Linked DNA regions of Homo sapiens: regions 1, 2 and 4 are each linked to region 3. The links are contacts of gene promoters, found by promoter capture Hi-C in human tissues and cell types (Jung and others, 2019). All regions are on one chromosome and are shown on one strand. The core of a region is centred on a gene start or on the middle of the fragment in contact, and the rest is flanking DNA. Distances in the headings are between cores, read along the strand shown. Region 1 has its middle 3.8 kb from the start of OR1N2. Region 2 overlaps OR1B1 (olfactory receptor family 1 subfamily B member 1). Region 3 holds the start of OR1K1 (olfactory receptor family 1 subfamily K member 1). Region 4 has its middle 7.4 kb from the start of OR1Q1.

Evidence for each region. The method cuts DNA at HindIII sites, captures the fragments that hold promoters and counts their contacts. A contact is called where the count stands out against the background at its distance.
Region 1: a fragment that was not itself captured here is called in contact with the fragment with the promoter of OR1K1 in region 3 in 4 of the 25 tissues and cell types used here (H1 embryonic stem cells, IMR-90 fibroblasts, mesendoderm cells and 1 more).
Region 2: a fragment that was not itself captured here is called in contact with the fragment with the promoter of OR1K1 in region 3 in 3 of the 25 tissues and cell types used here (H1 embryonic stem cells, IMR-90 fibroblasts and aorta).
Region 4: a fragment that was not itself captured here is called in contact with the fragment with the promoter of OR1K1 in region 3 in 2 of the 25 tissues and cell types used here (mesendoderm cells and stomach).

Annotation. Positions count from the first base shown.
Region 1 is chr9:122,555,456-122,558,280 of GRCh38, reverse strand. It overlaps a transcript of OR1J2 not described here and a transcript of OR1L8 not described here. Among named protein-coding and RNA genes, the nearest start is that of OR1N2, 3.8 kb to the right of the region's middle. The HindIII fragment of the contact is 5,041 bases long and covers 1-2,825 here.
Region 2 is chr9:122,636,168-122,638,867 of GRCh38, reverse strand. The region is part of intron 1 of OR1B1 (olfactory receptor family 1 subfamily B member 1); the gene reads left to right. It overlaps LOC124902265 (a long non-coding RNA gene), which reads right to left. Exons shown (of 3, transcript XR_007061759.1): 2 at 1,632-1,765. Among named protein-coding and RNA genes, the nearest start is that of OR1B1, 20 kb to the left of the region's middle. The HindIII fragment of the contact is 3,189 bases long and covers 1-2,700 here.
Region 3 is chr9:122,798,738-122,801,455 of GRCh38, reverse strand. OR1K1 (olfactory receptor family 1 subfamily K member 1) reads right to left here and starts at 1,333. Exons shown (of 1, transcript NM_080859.1): 1 at 383-1,333. The coding sequence starts at 1,333. The coding sequence ends at 383. The HindIII fragment of the contact is 19,122 bases long and covers 1-2,718 here.
Region 4 is chr9:122,605,843-122,608,893 of GRCh38, reverse strand. It overlaps the pseudogene OR1H1P. Among named protein-coding and RNA genes, the nearest start is that of OR1Q1, 7.4 kb to the left of the region's middle. The HindIII fragment of the contact is 3,849 bases long and covers 1-3,051 here.

The DNA of each region.
Region 1 (2,825 bases), core at 116-2,615, 240 kb after region 3:
CCACTAGGAAACTAAATCCAAAGTAAGCACAAGAAAAAAACAATAAAAATTAAAACAGAAATCAATGAAATTGAAAATAGGACAATAGGACATTATTAAAGAAAATCAACAAAACCAAAAGCTAGTTCTTTGAAAAGATCAATAAAATTGATATACCATTAATAAGTCTAACTAAGGAAAATAAAAGAAAGAAGACACAAGTTACTAATATCAGAAATGAATAAAAAAATCACTACAAATCCCATGAACATTGAAAGGATAATAAAGGAATACCATGAACAAATCTGTGCCCACAAACATGATAACTTAAATGAAATGGACCAATTCTTGGAAAGCCACAATCCACTAAAACCCATACAAGAAGAAATGAACATTAACAGGCCTATTTCTATTAAAGAAATTAACTCAATAGTTAATAACTTTCCCAAACAGAAAGTACCAGGCCTAGATGGGATCACTGGTGAATTGTATCAAACATTTAAGGAAGAATGTATGCCAATTCTCTGCAATCTCTTCTAGAAGATGGAAATAGAGTAAGAAAGAACTTTTAGCTCATTCTATGAGGCCAGCAATACTCTAATACCAAAAGTAGATAAGGTAATTACAAGAAAAGAAAACTACATACCAATATCTCTCATGAATATGGATGTAAAAATCCTTAATAAAGTACTTAGCAAATAGAATCCAAGAATGTACAAAAAGAATTATACACCATATCCAAGTGGGATTTATCTCAGGAATGCAGGGCTACTCTAACACTTAAAAATCAATTAATTTAGTTGATCACATCAATAGACTAAAGAACAACTACATAATAATATAAATAGATGCAGAAAAAGCACTTCACAAAAATCCAACACTCATTTATGATTAAAAACTCTGAGAAAACTAGGAATAGAGAGATAAAGGATATCTATTTTAAAAACTACAGTTAATATCATACTTAATGATGAGAAACTAAAAGCTCTGCACTAAGATCAGGAACAAGGCAAAAAAATGTCCCCCCTCATTACTGCTTTTGAATATCATACTGAAAGTCCTAGTAATGCATAAGACAAGAAAATGAAAAGTATACAGATTCAGAAGGAATAAATAAAACTGTCTTTATTTTCAGATGACATGATTTTTACAGAAAATCCAAAATATCCAAAAATCTCTTCTGGAACTAAAAGAATTATAGCAAGGTTTCGGGATACAGGGTTAATATACAAAAGCCAGTTGCTCTCTTACATAGCAGCAATGAACAAATGGAATTTGAAATTAAAAACACAACACCATTTACACTAGCAGCCCCCAATTTGTTAGATATAAATCTATATACAAGATTAATATGAGAAAAACTGCAGAACTGATAGGAGAAATCAAATAAGAACTAAATAAATGAAGAGATATTCCATGTTCATGTATAGGAAAACTCAATGTTATCATGGTGTCATTCTTCCCAACTTGATTAATAGATTCAACATAGCCTCAATCAAAACCCCAGCAAGTTACTTTGTGGATATCAACAAAATGCAGAGAGGCAAAAGACTCAGAATAGCTAACACATTATGGAAGAACAAGTTTGGAGGACTGACACTACTTACTTTTTTTTTCTTTTAAATTTAAGTTCTGGGATACATGTGCAGAATGTGTAGGTTTGTTACATAGGTATACATGTGCCATGGTGGTTTGCTGCACCTTTCAACCTGTCATCTAGGCTTTAAGCCCCGCATGCATTAGTTATTTGTCCTAATGCTCTCCCTCCCCTTGTCCCCTAACCCCCAACAGGCCCCGGTGGACACTACTTACTGTAAGCCTGCAGTAATTAAGATAGTGTGGCATTGACAAAAGAACAGAAAAATAGATCAATATAACAGAATAAAGAGCCCAGAAATAGACCCACATAAGTAGAGTCAACTGATTTTTGACAAAGGATGAAAGACAATGCAATGGAGAAAACAGTCTCTTCAACAAATAGTGCTGAAACAACTAGACATCCACATGAAAAAAAAAAAAGAATCTAGACACAGACATTACACCTTTCCCTGAATATTGCATACAATGAAATATTACTCAGTCTCAGAAAGAAATGAACTATCAAGCTATGAAAAGACATGGAGAAATCTTAAACACACTCTAAGTGAAAGAAGCCAATCTGAAAAGGCAATATACTGTATGATTCCAACTACATAACATTCTGGGAAAAGGTAAAACTATGGAGACAGTAAAAAGATCAGTGGTTACCACAGGGTTATGGGGAGAGGGGAATAACTAGATGAAGCACAGAGGATTTGTAGGGCAGTGAAACTATTCTGTATGATACTATAATGATGAATACATGCTATTAAGCATTTGTCAAAACCCACAGAATGCACAACACCAAGAATGAACTCCAATGTAAACTATAGACTTTGGGTGATGATGTGTCAGTGGAGGCTAATGGATTGTAATAAATGTACCACTCTGGTGAGGATTAGTTCGGGAGATTGTGCGTGTGTTGGGGCATAAAGTATATGGGAACTTTCTGCTCAATTTTTCTATAAACCAAAAACAGCTCTAAAAGAGTAAAGTCTATATATTTAAAAAAGATTGCAATGTTCATGCCTGCCTGAGTTTCCAGCCTGCCCTACAAATTTCAAACTTGCTACCCTCTACAACTGCATGAGCCAATTCCTTGAGGTAGATATCTTTATATATAAATAGACTGTAAATGGCATGGTGTAGCTGGGTGACTGGAGGGCAAAGGTGGGGATCTTAGAGGTCAGAAATTAGTTCCCAAAGAGGAGAGATATTATTCACAAACACAAAACTTGCCTTTCCCAACCTTTGCCTTGGCACTAGAA
Region 2 (2,700 bases), core at 72-2,571, 160 kb after region 3:
GCTCTGTGTAAACTTTTCTCCTGCTCTAGATCCCTTCAATCAGCACAAACTAAAAGCTGCTATGAGAAGCTCACTGTAGAACTTGCTATAGTGAGACAGAGAACCAGAAATGATAATTGGAAACATGGGTCCTGCCTGGGGTCAGGGAAAGACCATCTAGGGGAACTTCATGGCTCAATGCACAGGCCTGATGATTATAATTCACAAGTATTGTGACCTTTTCTTTTTCCATAAGGTCTTGGCAAATTGTTTTGGAGATAAATCTCTGATTATCTTAGTTCTCGGATAGATATTACCTAATTCTGGGTTCTCCATAATGTACTAGCTTGAGTATCCTGGTGCTGAATGTGTGATGTGGATATTATTTTGAGTTAGAAAGGTATGCTTAACCTTAGAAGGCATCAATAATAAAAACCACTAGAAAATAAAAGTCTTATATCTCCATTGCTACCCTTGGCTTTATTGTTTATATTTTAATAGGAAAAGCTTCACAGTATAGAAAAATACATAGGAACCAAAACAATGAACTACATATACTAAACACCCAACTTCAACAAAACTTAAATTTGCCCTTTTTTGTTTCAGTTCTTACCTTGAAAAAATTGACTGCTATAGATACAATTAAAGCCCAAACTGCTTCTCTTTCCTCTTTTCCTAAAGAAAACTACTATCCCAAATAAGCTATTCATTATTTTCCTGCATATTTCTAGAATTTCACTATGTATGTTTTATAAAAATGACAGAATTCTCTTGCATGTTTTACAACTTTATATCTGTTGTTATACTTTTCTATCATTTTGCAACGGGCCTTTCCCAGTTAACATTATGTCTTGGAGTTTTACACTCCATGCATGTTGTTTTGATTTCAAATGCTGTATAGTGTGAATGAAACACAAGTTAAAATATTTATGTAGAGTTATAGCACTATATTTAACTGAATTACCTATTCTTCATCACTGAAGAATGCCATCACTGTTATATACCACAATTTCTACAAATCGTGATTTTGTTTTTGGGACTGTCCATTTCTGTATCTGTATATCCATTTTTTAGCCACATATTGGGCTACAAAATGAATCTTAAAAAACTTCAAAGAAGTAACCTCACAGAGATTAAATTCTCTGGCCAGAATGCTATTAAATTAGAAACTGGTAACAAAAAGATAGTTTAAGAAAATGTTTGCAAACTAAGAATGCAGTGTAAAATATTACTTAAGGCCTTAAAGAAAGCTTGAGGGAAGGGCCAAGTGCAACTTCTGCCAGTGCATTGAGAAAGAGAAGACTGCATTTACCAAATTTGTTGGGATAAAAATGTATGAGTTTTCCTTAGACTAACTTTCCTTGGACCCAAGGATGGTACATGAGCTGTGTCATCTTGAAAATCATTCCACCTAAGAGAATTTCTTGCTAGAGTAAGGCAATCCTAGAAGAAGCTTAGAAGGGTGCAGTCAGATGTCCAATGTAAGGGAGGGGGCTCTAAGGGATCAGACAGGGTTTGAATTAGTCTCATCTGGGAAGAATGCAGTAATAGTTACCTATAGGTGGTCTCAAATGGGCCAATATGATGTTCCGCAAGAGAAGAGAGTCAGTATTTGTAACTTCTACCAGCTCTATCTTTCAAAGAGACCTTACCTTTCCGTTTCCCTTCTTCAAATCAACACTGCAATAGCCAGAGACAGAAAAGGATGGATAAGATGGTGCAAAGATGAAGACAGTCGCATCCCTCTTTCCCTAATGCAGGTTTCTGGATGAAAATATAAACCCTGCTGGGGAAGAAAGCACAGTTTAAATTGCTTGAGAATTAAAATTTTTATATTCTAATGTGTTGGAATTTTAGTACCTAAAAATGAGACTTTTCAAAAAGCAGTCGTGTGAAAAAAGTTACTTCCTACTTTACCTCTGCAAAGTTCATTTTCTTCCAAAAATACTCTCTTAACGGAATATGTTCTCCTTTAATCTTCTCTACCTTATGAGAAATTTTGTCACTATTTGACAGATGAGAAAGCATAACTTGCTTAAGATCACATAGTTAATAAATGGCAGATATGGAGTGAAACTCCAGGTAAGTCTGACTCCGAAACCTTTGTATTAACTTCTAGACCACTGCCCTTTAGTAGAAAATCTTTTTTGTTTGGTTAACAAATGTTTAACGAGCACCCACTCATTCCCCAGCTCTGTGTTAGGTATTAGGAAGTCAGTGATGAATGTACATGTGTGTGTTTGTTTGTTTATTTATTTATTTATTTATTTTTGAGACAGAGTTTCATTCTTGTTGCCCAGGCTGGAGTGCAATGGCATGATCTTGGATCACTGCAACCTCTGCCTTCTGGGTTCAAGCATTTCTCCTGCCTCAGCCTCCCAAGTAGCTGGGATTACAGGCACCTGCCACCAGGCTCGGCTAATTTTTTGTATTTTTGGTAGAGACTGGGTTTCACCGTGTTGCCCAGGTGGGTCTTGAACTCCTGACCTCAGGTGATCCACCCGCCTTGGCCTCCCAAATTGTTGGGATTACAGGCGTGAGCCACTGCTCCTGGCCAGTATATATGTGTATGTATGCGTGCATGCATGTGTGTATCTACATGGGTTCATATGTGTATATGTGTGTGTATACACACATGGTAACAGTGTACATTGGGAGATAGGCAAGTCAGTATTTACGAAGTTACTTGAAAAGCAAAAAATGCTCCACTAAAATGACCGT
Region 3 (2,718 bases), core at 84-2,583:
TGCTTGGCTAATTTTGGTATTTGTAATAGAGACAGGGTTTCGCCATGTTGGCCAGGCTGATCTTGAACTCTCGACCTCAGGTGATCCACCACCTCGGCTTCTCAAAGTGCTGGGATTACAGGCGTGAGCCGCTGTGCCTGGCTGGAAAGTCACTTCTTATCTTTGAGCCTAAAGACAAATTTTCTTGTGTGTAAAACCGGATCATAATATCTGCATCCTGGGTGGCTGTGGGAATAAAATGAGATCAGGCAAGGATCTGCTTCCGGGCAGGTGCTCAGGAAATGACAGCTGTTATGATTTTTGAGCATAGCAGAGGACAGAGGGTCACGTTCAACAGTTGCCAGTGTGGGTGATGCAGTCTGTCCTCAGTGGGGTCCTGCCCTCAGGAGTCACTAGCTGAGATCCTTCGCCCAATGAGAAGGGCTCGGAGTGCCCCCTGTACATCGCGATTCCAGAGGCTGTAGATGATGGGGTTCAGCATGGGGGTGACTACAGTGTACATGACAGTGGCCACACGGCCCCACTCTGCCTCGCGTCGGGATGTGGCCTGGAAGTAGACTGCAATGACTGTCCCATAGAAGAGGCTCACCACAGCCAGGTGGGAGCCACAGGTGGACACAGCCCGGAGCCTCCCAGAGGCTGAGGGCAGCTGGAGCACGGCAGCTGCGATGGCCCCATAGGAGGCGAGGATGAGCAGGAAGGGAGTGACCACCACTGCGGCGCCCTCGGTGAAGATGAGCAGCTGGATGTGGTGGGTGTCAGAGCACGAGAGCCTTAAGAGAGGCTGGTGGTCACAGAAGAAGTGGGGCACTTGGTGGGAAGCACAGAAGGACAAGCGAGCCATGAGCAGGATATACAGGAGGGAGTGGACGTGGGACACCAGCCATGCCATTCCCACCAGGGCTGCGCACATGGCCCGGGACATCCTCGTGGCATAGGGGAGGGGGTGCCGGATGGCCACGTAGCAGTCATAGGCCATGGCCGCCAGAAGACAGCTATCAGTTACCCCCAGGGCAAAGAAGAAGTACATTTGGGTCAGGCAGCCAGCCAGCGAGATGGAGTGGTCATGGGCCAACAAGTTGGCCAACATCTTGGGCACAGTGACGGAGGCGAAGCAGAGGTCAGCAAAGGACAGGTGGGCCAGCAGGAAGTACATGGGTGCATGAAGGGCTGGACTGGCCTGGATGGCAGCCACAATGAGTCCATTACCCAGGAGGCTGGCCACATACAAGAGCAAGAACAGCACAAAGAGAGGCCGCTGCTGTCCAGGACTTGTTGTCAGTCCCAATAAAACGAATGAGATTCCCTCTGAAGACTCATTGGCAGCCTCCATGGCAGGCTGGTTATTCGCCTGGAACCTGAAGGGCTCCTTTCTATTGATGGGTCACCTCCCCGATGTCTAACGGAAAAGGTGAGGGGATAAATTGTTCAAGGCTTCCTGGCCATGGGAAAATATCAAGAGTTTAGAGTCAGGTAGCCCTGGCCCTAGGCACAGGTATGACTATGGGCAAGTCATTTCACCTCCCTGAACCTTCTTCCTTTCTGGGCCTTAGATTTTCTTTTCTTTTTTTTTTTTTTTTTTTGAGATGGAGTCTTGCTCTGTCGCCCAGGCTGGAGTGCAGTGGCACGATCTCAGCTCACTGCAAGCTCCACCTCCTGGGTTCACGCCATTCTCCTGCCTCAGCCTCCCGAGTAGCTGGGACTACAGGCGCCCGCCATCACGCCCGGCTAATTTTTTTTGTATTTTTTAGTAGAGACGGGGTTTCACCGTGTTAGCCAGGATGTTCTCGATCTCCTGACCTTGTGGGGCCTTAGACTTTCAACCTGCGAAATAAGAGAATTGAAGTAACTCATCTGCAAGGTCACGTCCAACTTTGATAGTTTGTGATTTAAGCAAAAATAGAACAAAAGATATTGCACAAGATGTAGATCAGGGAAGGAGGAAAATATGAAAGAAAAGATGAAACAGAGTGAGGTTCGACACAGAAAGATCTGGCCAATGGACATTTATTTTGGAAAAGAAAAAATGAAACCAAACCAAGATGGAGGAGAGAAACATAAGAAAGAAACTCTAGAAAAAAAATCTGAAGAGCACATATGTTTACATTGAAATGAATATGAACTCACAACACCTAGACACAAATAGTGGAATTTTAGAACACTGGAAATGAAGAGGAGACTCCAGTACTTCCTAAGGGCATGGGGTGCAATGAACTGATGATATCCATGTAATTAGATTGCCATCAAATGTTTCAATTCAACAGTAGATTATAGAACAGTTTAACAATATTCAAATTCTGAAAAAAAGCATTTCGAACTTGGAATTCTTCACTCAGCAAAAATACTACTCAAGTGTGAGTAAAGAATACAGATATTTTCAGACTTAAAACACAAAACAAGGCCGGGTGCAGTGGCTCGTGCCTGTAATCCCAGCACTTTGGGAGGCCAAGGTAGGAGGATCACCTGAGGTCAGGAGTTTGAGACCAGCCTGGCCAATGTGGTGAAACCCCATCTCTACTAAAAAAAAAAATACAAAAATTAGCCAGGTGTGGTGTCACGTGCCTGTAATCCCAGCTACTTGGGAGGCTGGGGCAGGAGAATATCTTGAACCCAGGAGGCAGAGGTTGCAGTGAGCCAAGATCGTGCCACTGCACTCCAGCCTGGGTGGCACAGTGAGACTCCATCTCACACACACACAAAAAAAGAACAAGAGAATCT
Region 4 (3,051 bases), core at 280-2,779, 190 kb after region 3:
TGAGAGACGCTATAGTGGTTGGGCTCTCAGGAGACTGATCCACTCCCAGCTCTGAGTCTTGGGGTCAGGATCCTAAGGTCTTGAGTAAGGGTGTTAGGATGTTTTTATTCCAAGCAGTTTTCCCAGTGCCCCCTTCATATCCCTGTTCCTCAGGCTGTAGATGAAGGGGTTCAACATGGGAGTCACCACCGTGTACATGACTGAGAAGACTCTGTCCTTTCCATCTGAGTGGGATGATGGAGGACATAAATAGACACCGATAGCTGTGCTATAGAACAGAGAGACTACAGAGAGGTGGGAAGTGCAGCTGGAGAAGGCCCTTTGCTTACCCCTTGGGGAATCAATTCTCAGGATGGCCAATGCAATGTAAAAGTAGGACATAAGGATGCAGACAAAGGGCGCAATCAGCAGTGTTCCTGCCACAAGGATGAGCACCAGATCATTGACACAAGTACTGGAGCAGGCCAGCTTCAGGAGTGGGACCAGATCACAGAAGAAGTGAGGGATAATATTTGGACCACAGAAGGAAAGCCTGGTCACTAGGAGGGTATGCACTAGGGCATGTAAAATAGTGATCACCCATGACACAGCCACCAACAGGACACAGCGTTGGGAGTTCATGGTTAGGGCATAATGGAGAGGATGGCTGATGGCCACATAGCGGTCAAGGGCCATCACAGCCAGGAGAAAGTTGTTGTCCAGATCTGCAAATAGGCCAGAGAAATAGAGTTGTGTCAGACACTCCCCATAAGAAATCAGCTTAATTCCTGAGCTAATATGATCTAGCATATTGGGAATTATTGTAGAGATAAAGCCAATATCCAAAAAGGACAGGTTGGACAGGAAGAGGTACATGGGGGGTGTGGAGGTGCAGGTCAGAGCCAATGGCCAGGATGATTAGCAGGTTCTCCAACACAGTGACCAAGTACATGACCAGGAAAAGCCCAAACAAAAGAGCCTGCTGCTCCTGGTGTTCAGAGAAGCCCATGAGAAGAAATTCATAGATGCAGGTCTGGTTTCTTCTGTCCATGTCTCAAATTCTGTGTGAAATACATTTTGTTATAAGTAGCAAAAGAGTAAAATAATGCTGTGTTAAAAGTACTTCAAACTCCTGTTTGAAAAAATTCTGTGGTTAAATAATTCTGTTTTGAGAAAGCTTGGATTTATTATTGTGCATGTTAAAAAGTTTGGGTCAGACCATTTGTCAAGTTATCGATTGGTGTCAGTATTTGATAAGATATCTAAGGCTCCTTTGAACTATTTCAGCTGTCCATATGATACATATCAGCCACCAGTAAAAGTGTGCCTTGGATTGTACATGTCCTATCTGTTTACACAAGTACTTTTCTCTTAGTAATAATATAATTAAGTAAAAAATGTAAAATACCAGAACAGTGTGTATACGCATAGTTACAGTTAAGTAAAAATGAAACAGAAATATTTGTGTATGAATAAGAACACAATCTAGAAGAACACACTCAAAAGATGGATAATGTTTGCTTCTAGGGAGTGAGTGTGGGGGGAAGAATGGTGGGTGTCAACTTCTGTATGACACACACCATTTCTTTTACTAGCATGTGTTATTTTTGAAAGTAAAAGATTATTTTTAAGTGTGATGGATGTGATGGGTTGAACTAATTTAAATGGTGGTCCAGAAGCCAATATGGAGATTTTGAGAGACCCAGAATTCTGACAAGTTAACCAGGGTGTCATCTCTAAAAAGCAGCTCTGGCAAGTAAGTAGAACAAAAATCAAATCATTTGACTTTGTGCAAAGAAAAAAAATTGAAGTTATGGAGCAAGACTTTTTCATCATAGTCACTTTACTTAGAGTAATATTTTGGCTTTCCCTAAGAAAAGCTACAGGAAATGCATTGAATTCTGCTCCAGTATCCCCAAGCATGCCTGGGAATGACACATGCTTTCCCTAACACCTCTGATATACCTCACTCGCAGGTACTCCTCACTCATAAGATAGGTGCTCCTCACTCACAGGTGCTTCTTGCAGGTGCTCCTCACTCATAGATGCTCCTCACTCATAGGTGCTCCTCACTCACAGATGATCCTTACTCAGAGGTGCTTCTCACTCATAGGATAGGTGCTCCTCACTCATAGGATAGGTGCTCCTCACTCACAGGTGCTCCACATAGGATAGGTGGTCCTCACAGGTGCTCCTCACAGATGCTCCTCACTCAGAGGTGCTCCTCACTCACAGGTGCTTCTCCAGTCAGTTTGGCTTCTCCTGGCCCCTTGGATTTAAAAACCTAAACTTTAGATGGTCTATTCCAGCTCCTGAACCCTTCCTTGCCTTATTATATTTATTTATGAGATTTATATATTTTACATCTAAATAGAAGGTGTCAAATCCTTCATTTGCCCCCAAAGCCACACCTTAATTTGTCTCTAGTGCCGCTCAAAGAATACCTTGATTTGGGACTTGAAATTCCTTTTTTCCCACAGAAGCCATAGTGAGGATATACCAGGATCTCTTAAATAGATAATACTGGACATTAAGTTTATCCAATCCACAGCCCTTGTTCTGACACTATGAAAAAAGTTGGAGTAATAATCATAGCTAATACTGGCTGAGCACTAGCCATTGCCAGGTTCTGAATTCACTTAAGTGATAGCCCTGTGCACCAGCACTGTGAATATCTTTATTTAAAAATGTAGAAACTGAAGTTCAGGGTGGCGATGCAATTGCTGAAGTCTACAGCAGCAGGTATTGAAGTGAAGTTTGTCTGAGTCAAAAGCTTAAGTTCTAAACCACTGTGCTACACTGCCTTTCAATATTCACCAAGTCATTTTCTGACTCTAGTTCAGTCTCATGCATATTTTCTATAAGGAGGGAATGCACCATCAGGGAATTTAAATATCCATTCAATTTGACAGTTGCAGTTCTCAAAGCAAATGAAGATGTGGATATTTTTGGCTTATGCCTCAATCTTTTGTGAACATGATTGACGTGAGTTAGTCTACTTTGGTCCAATCCAATGTCTGGACAAGATCCAATTTTTACACTTGATTTGTACTCTGAGATGGAGCTATCCTG